Linked DNA regions of Homo sapiens: region 2 is linked to region 1. Evidence: promoter capture Hi-C in 16 types of primary human blood cells and fetal thymus (Javierre and others, 2016). All regions are on one chromosome and are shown on one strand. Each heading gives the region's core, a stretch centred on a gene start or on the middle of the fragment in contact. The rest is flanking DNA. Distances are from core to core; before and after follow the strand shown. Region 1 holds the start of CD53 (CD53 molecule). Region 2 overlaps KCNA3 (potassium voltage-gated channel subfamily A member 3).

Region 1 (5,050 bases), core at 917-3,416:
AATTAAGTGAACAGGTGAGAGGATATTCTAGAGAGAGCTCGTGAGACAGAACTAGATTGATTTGTTTAAGCAACTAAAAGGAATTCCATATCCAGTGTTACCCAGTGTGAGGAGATCTTGGGGGTGGGGCCGGGGAAGAAATAGCCGGCTGAGAGTTTTAAGCTGGGGAGTCATGTGATTAAATTTGCATTTTAGAAGGCTCTCCTCCCTTCTTCCTGAGGACAGACTGAAGAAACATCCAAGGTGGTCTTGAAGGACACTGGGATCCTGTAACACAGGTAAAAGATAAAGACTAATGTAATTTCTATGGGGTTGGAGAGAGGTGGTCTGGTTTGAGAAATATTTAGGCAAAAGCATAACTGACAGGACTTGGTGGCTGATAATAGGTGGTGGTGTGGGAGAGAGAGTAGCTTAAGAGGACACCTGGTTTCTCATGAACGTGGCTGAAAGGCCAGTCAGGCCTTTCCTGGATGGTGGACATGGTGGGAGGAGCAGGCTTGAGTGTGGGGATGCCAAGTTAATCAAACTGAAGTTGGATATTGGATTTGAGGTGCCTGGGAGAGAGTGGAGCTCAAAGGAGAGATCATGGCATCTATATAGATTTGTGAATCTTTGGAACAGACAGATAGTAATTAGAGCCATCAGAATGGGTGAGATAATTAGGAAAATATGAGTTCAGCCAGAAGCCTCTCCTCAGCCCCACCACTTCAGGGACCTGTAAGCATGGCAGCAGCTCTGAGTGAGGGTCAGTGATTCCAGCCGAGGTGCAGAGACTTTTTAATAGCATTCCCTAAAGTGTAGTTACACTGAAAAATTGTTCCCCAAGAGAAACTACACACACACACACACACACACACACACACACACCACACAGTTCCATGCTCAGATAAGTTTGGAGAAATCTATATATTATTTCCCCTGCTTAGAGAATATTAAGGACTGACAAGTTCTGCAGTAAAGACCTTTTTACCTTCATTTAATTCAGTTTTCCCCACAAGACAGCCCTGGCTGGAGATTACTCTGGATCTGAATGTCTCAGGGTGAAGGAAGCGGGAGACAGCTAGCTTTCCCAGAGGCATGCCCGCAAGTCAGCACCGCAGAGTGCATCTATCTGTTCATTTATAAGATGAAAACATTGGGGCCCAGTGATTGCTTCCAAGTTTCATAGTTAGCTAGTGATACATTTGGGTTGTCACATACTCCTTTGACCCAATCTAAGAAAATTCCAGTGATGCAGCATAGTGAAACCAGAAACACATTTTTCAAAATATATTGATCACAGTGTTTCTCAAAAGGCCTTCTCTGTGACCTTGAATTTTAATCCTACCTCTGACATGTCTTAGTTGTATGAGCTTGGGCAAATTTTCTAACCTCTTTGAGCGCCTGTTTTCTTGTATATAAATAAGGATGTAACAGTAACCAGTAGGATTATTATTAGGTGTTACCATTAATAAACTGAGGCTGACAGATTGAGACTTGCTCAAGATCTCACAGCTAAAAGAGATAAAGCTGGAACTGAAACTCAGATCTTTGGCTCCAAATGTGGTGTTTCCTGTACTAACCAAATCATTTCTACCAGTGCCCCTGGGATTATGCCTTGGGGACTCACCTTAAGACAGTCTTGCTCTCGAGACAGAGAAGTCTGCAAATGGTGTCCAATTCAAGTCTAGAGACTGGCTGAAGCCAGACAGAGGGAGTATGAGGAGGGGGCAGAGAATCTTCAGAAAGACATTCCAAAGTCTCGGGCCTAGAAAATGTTTAGAAATATTGGTTCCTGTGTTCCCCTCCAGTCTGTCTACCTGAATGGGAAACTGGTGGTGGGGCCAGGCATACTTCTTTTTGAACAAATACACAGTTAATTCTGAGATGCCACCTTGATTGAGAAGCACTGTCCTTTTCTAAGCAAAAATCATTGCCAAATTACCCTAGAATCCACCACTGCTCACAGATCTGTGCCTGAACCAACTTGGTTTTGAAGTTTTCTTTTGTTTCACAAAACTAGTTTAGGGTGGGCTGTGAGAGGAAGCTTCTAAAAAGCCACTGGGAAAGTACTAAATCTCTGAGACTAAAGAGGGCGGACTCAGCCTCACTTCCTCCTTCTTCTCATCTGGGCTTCCTGTCGTCACAGCATGATCATATTTTTTCACCCTTCACTTCTCCTTTTACACAAATAGCCCCGGATATCTGTGTTACCAGCCTTGTCTCGGCCACCTCAAGGATAATCACTAAATTCTGCCGAAAGGACTGAGGAACGGTGCCTGGAAAAGGTAAGGTTGATGACGTTTTAACTTGGCTTGCTGTCTAATGTGGGGTAGGGCGTATTCTTAGGGGTCTCCATATACCTCTCTAGTAACCATAAAATCTCCGGCAACTTCTCTTTCACAAATATTTAGTGCACAAAGTAAAACAGATTAGCAAGATCCTAGTAACATCCCCAAAGGCAATCAGGCCAGAAATACTTTTACTTAATCAGGTTCCCATTATCTAAATCTCTGAGTCGAGGCATTCACATGCCTTAATTGCTTCAGAGCTTGAATTACTCTGTGTAGTAATTCCTGATGCCTGGAGCTTTCTATGCGAGATGACATTGGGGAGATTTCCTATGTGCTCTGGTCTTCAGAAAATTGGTCTTGTGATTTTAAAGTGAGGAAAGAACCCACAGCCAGAGCTGTCTTTAGAAAGACAGCTAGAAGACACAGTTCTTTTTCATTTGAGAAAATTTCAAAAGTAAATTTAGTGACTCCCACTGTGGTTCTTCAAAGCCACTAAATAGAAAGGTGGCTAAAAATCAAAACACCAGGATGTGCTCAGTAACTGTATTTTAAAAGGTGAAAGCTAGACATCTCTAAAGGATGCATAGATTGTTGGCTTTTAAGGAGCAGGAAGCACATTGGGATCCTCAGCATTTCCCCAAATTATCCTTGGTGTACAAAACATGACCACTGATAAATGTCACATGAAATGCACGTATAAAATGCAATCCCCAAAACTTGATACTGCAGTAATTTCCAATCATGTGCTGTAACTAATGACTGAGGTTGCATGGACTCAGCAAAGTGTTAGCAGAGCTTCGGTCCTGACTCTCTGTGACCACCATCGGAAACTCTATGTAAGAGCTTTCTTCTTCCAAGACCTGTGAGAATTTCACTTGATTATGCCCTGGAGCAGAAAGGAGAAAGTTCTCTTTGATTACACCCACCCATCTAAGTATGAGGATTGGGAACAGGGCAGAGGGCTCTAGATTTCCAAGAGGGGTGGGGACGGGGAGAGGGCTCTGGATTCCCAAAACACCTCAGAGTTTATTGAGCCTTGTATTAAAAAATAAAAAGCAGTCTTTTAAATAAATTCACTTAATAATCAAGTGGTAGGTGCCTCCTGAGGCCAGGCACTGTGCTTTGGGAATTGTGGGGGAGGGAGATGAAAAGGTAGAAGGAGAATATTTGTCTAGCAAACAGTCCTACTCTTAAGGAACTCCCATGGGAGATAAGAGATATCATACTATGCGTGTGCTTTGGAAGAAAGCTGAGAAAAAGCAAACTCCCAGCTGCTGGACAAACAAAGAGGTTTTGCTTTCTCAATCTTGAGGAGAATCTGTACTATTTTGAAATTGTGGTTGAATGGGAGCAAAGACTGAACTGAAACATTATTTCCTGTGATGTTTCCTGTGTGGGCCAGTTAAGAACACTTAATTTTTAAATGAAAGGATTGGGTACCTTTATATTCATGAGGAATGATTCCAAGTTCATGCCTTCACAGCTATGGTTACCACCACCTAAGTGACCTCACCTTTGTTCACTGACAAGAGGCACAAACTGGAAAGGACAAAGTCTGTTGGTCCTTGGTTTTTTGTGCCCTCTGATTGACCTCTGACTGCACAGAGGCCCTCGGACTCTGGTTCTCCTTTCCCACTCCTACCCCATGGCCAGATATGGCACTTGGTGCTGGAGATACAGGATAACAGAAAAGATTATCATCTGAAAGGAGTTGTAGAGTTTATTATGGATGACAGTCACAGCAATATACAAATACAGTGCAATGTGCTCTTTTCTATAATAGATGGAGAACGTGCACAAACTGTAGGAGTTAGGAGTGTGCCAAAAACTGCCTAGAGAGGTGACTGGTGGGTTCACTTTCACAGAAGTATGGGTTTGCTATGGAGACATTCTAGACCAAGGGTGCTGTATATTCAAATTCAAAGAAGTGTGTACCTCCAGGCATGTTAGAAATGAGAGAAAGCAAGTGAGACTGCAGTGTAACACACCATGTTTACAGAGCCACATGAAGTGGAAAGCCCTTTCTCCTACTTGGCACCAGAAAGTGGAGGGCAAGATCGCTCACCAGGCAGGTCCTAGGTCCAGCTCTGGGTGGGGCTATGCCCACCATGTTCACACGACAGAATTGATGGGATGTGGGTTTGAAATGAGGGAGAAGAGGCAGGTTTTTGCCTCCTCAACCTAGATTTTCACTTAGAGCAGAAGGAAGGGTGGAGCTTCTTGTGAGGTTACAGCCATTGTTTTCAGCTTAGCTTCTGTTCCAGGAAGTACTGCATTGATTCAGTTATAGTGGTTTGTTCTGCGTCCCTAGATTAGTCAGCCTAGGGCACTTCTTGTACCAAGCAAGCATCCACTGTGTGTAGATCACCCTGGGCCCTAGAGACTGGGCACCTGTCCTCAGGAAGCTCCTAGGACCCATCTGCCACTGCAGGTGCAGGGCACTGAAGCAAAGTAACCCAGAGAAAACAGACAGCTATGCAGAGCAGGACTCCAGCATGGCTGCTGGGGCAGAGGAGGGAAGGATTGAGCTGGAGGTTGGGTGGTCAGTTTGAGAAGGCTGTCTGGAGGTAGGTTTTGGGAAAGAGAAAGACATGCATTTGCAAAGCCAGTGGATGACCACTCAGAGTAAAGGCCAGGAATCTCTATACTGAGAGTTAGAGGTGAGTGCTCTCTCTTCATTATCCATTTCATAAGCACACAGCAGAATTTCTACCCAAGCAATAGCATCAATATGTCATAGCTCTGACCAAGAATTATTGTAAAAGAAAATATGACAC
Region 2 (5,149 bases), core at 934-3,433, 200 kb before region 1:
TCTTAATATGCATTTGATGGCTAATGGTGCAAATTTTAAAACAGAAGAAAACACACATCTGGTACAAAAGAACCCAGTAAAATCATGAAAACGTTTCTTTTTAAAATGTATTTTCTTCACAATTTTGAAAATTAGCTCACGACATCATTAAAAATCAAGACAAACATCTGAAAGTTTTCTAACCAGTCTGAATCATTTAAATTATACTTGCAAACTGAATATGAGTACATAAAGAATACTATTATCATATGCTATATAGCAATGGCCATTTTCTGGCAGAAAGCTAAGAGCTGAGTCACAATAGTAAGGTCTGGGCTCTGATTGGCTTCTACTCCCTTTTTCCTGCCTCCTTTGATGTACTTTCTCTCAAAGGTTATCAACCACTTCCTAAAGGTATATAAAAACAAGTGATTTCATTAATATATATAGAATTGCCCCCAAACCCATACGGAATAGTACAAAAACCAATAATTGTATCCTCCTTAGTTTAAAAGGCCTAAAACAAAACACAAAGAAAAAGCTCCCACTGTAAAAATGCAGCCCTAAATATCCTCTTCCACATTCTTATGCTCCTCACCTCTATCTCACAGTGTTTCCATAAGTCTTCAGATTATGGGGCACGTGTGCTTCTTTGCATTTCTTAGTGGGAAGGGTTATCACTTCTATTCACAGCTGAGAGGTGGGAAGGACTTGGAACTGCTGTAGAAAATGTTGAAATTTTAAATGTATAGAAGTCAATAAGTTATAGTTATGGTACTCAAAGGAACAGACTACTAGTATATATTATATACATTGTCTTTATATACTATAGCAAAACAAATACTTGAGTATATTATACGCCAAAAAGGTAAATAACAAGTTTTATGCCAACAAACCATAACTTTAAATGTCTTCATACTGTGCATTTAAATTTCAATACTGAAATTTTATTTCAAAGTTTAGAAATAACTGACATAATGCTTCCTCCTATGCGTAGGTGTCTGTGGTTATGTCACCACAGTTGGTGTATCATGTCATTTTAAAACATCATAAAAGAAATAAAACAATAACAATGTTAACTTCCATGTTTCTATCTGGATTCATCAGCTGTAAGGCATATACATTTTTCCCCAGGGTGTTGATGGGTGTGCACTGATCCAGTCACACCTCCTCACATGAATCTCTTGCTATACACAGACATCCGTATATTTCTTCAACACATAAGACGTGCAACTGAGCTCAACAGTGAAGGTTGTAGTTTGGCAAAGCCAGCTGGCATGTGCAAACGTAGGCTCATTAGAATTTTGCTCTAAGCCCAAATCATTATCCATTTTCATTTCATAAATGATTTAAGAACTGAGAGAAGGGTCTGCAGCTATTATGTAGGAAAAATTTTATTTTAATTTCTTTAGAGCACAGATGCCCTTAAAGATCCATGGAGTGGTTAGGTAAGGCAATAATGTCACAAGTTTCAGTGAACTGGCAATCTCATTCTGCTTTTAATACTTCTGTTCTGAATAATTTCTTCCCTCTTAATAAGGGAGAGTCAAAATATTTACATGACTTTCTGGTATGGTTCTTCAGTAAATGAAGCAAAGCATAAGGAGATAGAAAACTAATTTGCATAATGCTATCATCTATTGTTGATTAAAACACATGAAAACAGAAAAATCTTGAAACTGAAAAATATCCATTGTCATAGCAGTTATCACTAAACACTACTATGACTGGTTATACTTTCTAAGATTAAATCTAGATAAACCAACTATAAGAAAATAATCTTTTGTTATTAGAAAAGTCAATCTCTTCATCTTATTTAAATAACTTATATTTGATGCTTATATTTGGTTAAAATACCTGCTTATTTTAAGCAGGTTAATTTTCAGTATACTGAAATGAAATAGGTTTCTGGAGATATGTTATCTACATGAACTCATTAATTAGTGACATAGGCTGAAGCCAAGTCTAAAAGCATAAGAGATTTGTCTTTCAAGTCACCTAATAAAAGTAGCATGGGTTTCAGAGCCAGAATAACCTGGCTTTAAATCATAACTGAGTCTCCTGCTAGCTGTGAAGTCTTAGGGAAATCACTTAACTTTAAGCATCTATTTTATGCCCTCCTAAAATGAGGTTAATAGCACTTACCTTGCGGAGTTGACAAGTGTCCAGGACATGGTTGACTCTTAATAAATGGTAATTATTATTCTTATAATAGAAAGGAAATAGGAAGACACTGATTACTTGTGTATTTCATATTCACAAAACATTGTATTAATTATACAGTGCTTGTGAGTGATGATCACAATATAATCTCTTAGCAAAATCTCTGATGCCGTGTCATGGAATTATTTTTTCTAAGTGTTCTACCTGTATTAACATTTACTATTCACAATAAACCTGTGAGGTACTGTTTATCACCCTCATTTTACAAACAAAGAAACTGAGGCACAGAGAGGTTAAGTAATTTGTTCAAGATCATATACCAGAGTCAGGACTCAAATCCTGGAAATATGACTGCAGAGCTTATGCTTTTAACCACTTTATTAAAAGCCTGGAAATAACATTTATGTAAGATAACAGCCATTCACTCAACAAATATAAAAGGTGCCACATTCTGTGCTAGGCACTAGTACCTAAAACCTTCAAGACACAGAGCTTATATCCTTTAGGGAACTTACAATGTGGTGACTACAAGCAATCATATTACCTCAAAGTTATGAGTCAAAAGCCAGGATATTTCTCTGGATTAAAGAACAAAGGCCCCCTTTAAATTACTGCCATTTAATAACCATAAGAATTATGGCACAACCATAATTTACTTATAGAACTAATCAAGGTTTCTACATCTCCTGAATAAATGTGAATAAAATTGTCATTGCACTTCCTCCATCTCTATGTTAAGAACAGATACAAAAATTATTTTAATGTAATTGTTACAATGTATCTAACATATTATCAAAATGTGTCATAAAAATAATTTCTGGTCATTAAGGGTACCAAACGTTTGGTCAAGAGGTAGATCAATGTCAAAGGTTAACTCAAACAAAAAGCAAAGAAAACTAGATAATGAAGTCCTACTTAGATATACATAGATAAAAACAAATATATGATAAAAAACAAACAACAAATCTATGACCAGGTATATTTAGATTTCTTGCCTCTATTTGTTTGGTCTTTTCCTTCCTCAGCTCTCTCTTATAGTCTCAATCACTATTTTCCTCTCTCTTCAATGCATGCATTATAAATGTACTCCTAACTGAAAATACTTCATGGGCTTTAAAAATAGGGTTACTCTCATTTACTCTGGAAGGATAGAATAGTTATATGCTATTAAAACCAAAAAACAACTGTAGATAATGTATAATTTATATAATGTATATGAAACAGAATGATTATGTTTAAATAAAATGTTACTCTTATTTTTAACCCTTTTTTGTTTCAAAGAACTGTACCACTGCATACTATTAAATAATTATGTAAATTAAAATTGGACCAATAATCTAACAGCAGTAGATTCTGCCATTTATCCTTTTTAAAGGGAAACAGGTTGCTTGGAGGCCAAGTGGGTTAGTAAAAGGAACGGAATAATTTTCAGTTTGGCTTGAGTGAAGGTTATTCTGAAGAGCAATGACTGTTTTTTCATCCTTTTGTAATAAACAATGGAAACTAAACGACAGTTAGCAACATGGAAATCAAATGAGAAAGGTGTAAATTATTTTTAAAAAGACACCAAGCATGTAACTAAGATAAAACTGTTGGTTTGGCAAATACCATCAGTCTATACATGAATGACAGTTCCCTGGCTCTGGATAACAAAAGGGACTGCTCCCAGTAGATCACAGAGTGCTCACCTGATTCTGTCTGTCTTCTGGCAACCCTTGGCATATGGCTGAAACTTGCAGGTGTTCTCCCAAGATCTGGTTACTTCCTGTCCCTCCTTTTAATTGATTGTCTGCAATTCACTCAGTTTTAAACGTGCATCCTTTATTTATTTGAAGTTTATTTAGCTTGTCAAGTGCTGTGATGATGACAGAGCTGTTGTGGGATCTGTATTTTTTTTTTTAAAGAGAAAGCCTGAAGGTCCCTTGTAGTAAGGTTTCAGGCACACTGATCGAATCTCTCATTTGCTTATGTACAGAACACTTTTACATTTGCTTTTAAATTTCATTTGTTGGCTTGAAAGTTCTTGGAGAAAGAAAACTGTAGAGAAGCATCTTTAAAAATTATTGCCTAATAAATGGCATTTAATCCAGATCATGCCTTATTGTGGTTAATATCTAACATTCCAAACACCATATTTTCCTCCTTGATTCAGTCATTATGGAATGACATAATGATTTTCATAGTTAAAAAATGCATTTGGGATTCATTTCACCTCCTTAGAGTCTCAGACTTAACTTTATTTTTTGTGCGGCTTATTCAAACAGTGGTTTTCCTTATGAAATCATTTAAGTAGGAACCATCTGGAAAGGTTACTGTGGAAACGGCAGGGGCTGGGAGGTGGGGCTAGAGAGCAAGAGATGCCATGACAACCTTTTTCGGGTTTCCCAGGAAACATGGGTTGCTATGGAAACTGCATCAGTCAGGTCCGAATTAGTAACTTCCGCTGGAAGGGGTGTCTGCCACTTTAATCTTCTTGTGATACTGCCGAAGCTTATCTCTCAGATGCATTAGGAAATTTTTTGTTTCTCTCAGCAACACTGAAAACATCTGTTTCTAGACTTTGATAGTTGTTGGGGCTGGGACATATGCACAGAACTTCACAGGAATCTGTTAGTCTAATGCTTTAGAAATGCTTAGCAAGCCCGAAAGAATTAAACTAATTAGTCAGATCAGGACATCTTGGGCATTTCCCTTTATTCAAAGTTGTAGAGACACTTAAAATTCCGGGAAAGGGGATTCAAATAGGAATTTAAGTCAAAAACCAAATAACTCATGGTGGGTTTACAAGTCATTATTCTAGTTAGACTCTTCATCCACATATCTACAGGGTAGGCAACCGAAATACATATTCAATAAATAACGTTGAAAGGTCCATCAAACCGAAGCATCATTTACTACGAATTGATGTGCTTAGGAAAGAAACAACTGCCTTTAAAATTCTGAGGTTAAACAGTTACTCTAACTGTTCTTTAGTTTCATTTCCTCCCAGGATGTACTGCTCTTTTTT

What was found. The method cuts DNA at HindIII sites, captures the fragments that hold promoters and counts their contacts. A CHiCAGO score of 5 or more calls a contact.
Region 2: a fragment that was not itself captured here is called in contact with the fragment with the promoter of CD53 in region 1 in 2 of 17 cell types (total CD8 T cells and activated CD4 T cells); the score reaches 5.4 in total CD8 T cells.

What each region holds. Positions count from the first base shown.
Region 1 is chr1:110,870,982-110,876,031 of GRCh38, forward strand. It overlaps CD53 (CD53 molecule), which reads left to right and starts at 2,167. Exons shown (of 8, transcript NM_000560.4): 1 at 2,167-2,267. It also overlaps a transcript of LRIF1 not described here. RefSeq lists enhancers at 1,368-1,417, 2,018-2,127, 3,640-3,689. The HindIII fragment of the contact is 4,495 bases long and covers 2,025-5,050 here.
Region 2 is chr1:110,667,646-110,672,794 of GRCh38, forward strand. KCNA3 (potassium voltage-gated channel subfamily A member 3) reads right to left here. Exons shown (of 1, transcript NM_002232.5): 1 at 4,820-5,149. Among named protein-coding and RNA genes, the nearest start is that of KCNA3, 4.7 kb to the right of the region's middle. The HindIII fragment of the contact is 4,893 bases long and covers 1-4,630 here.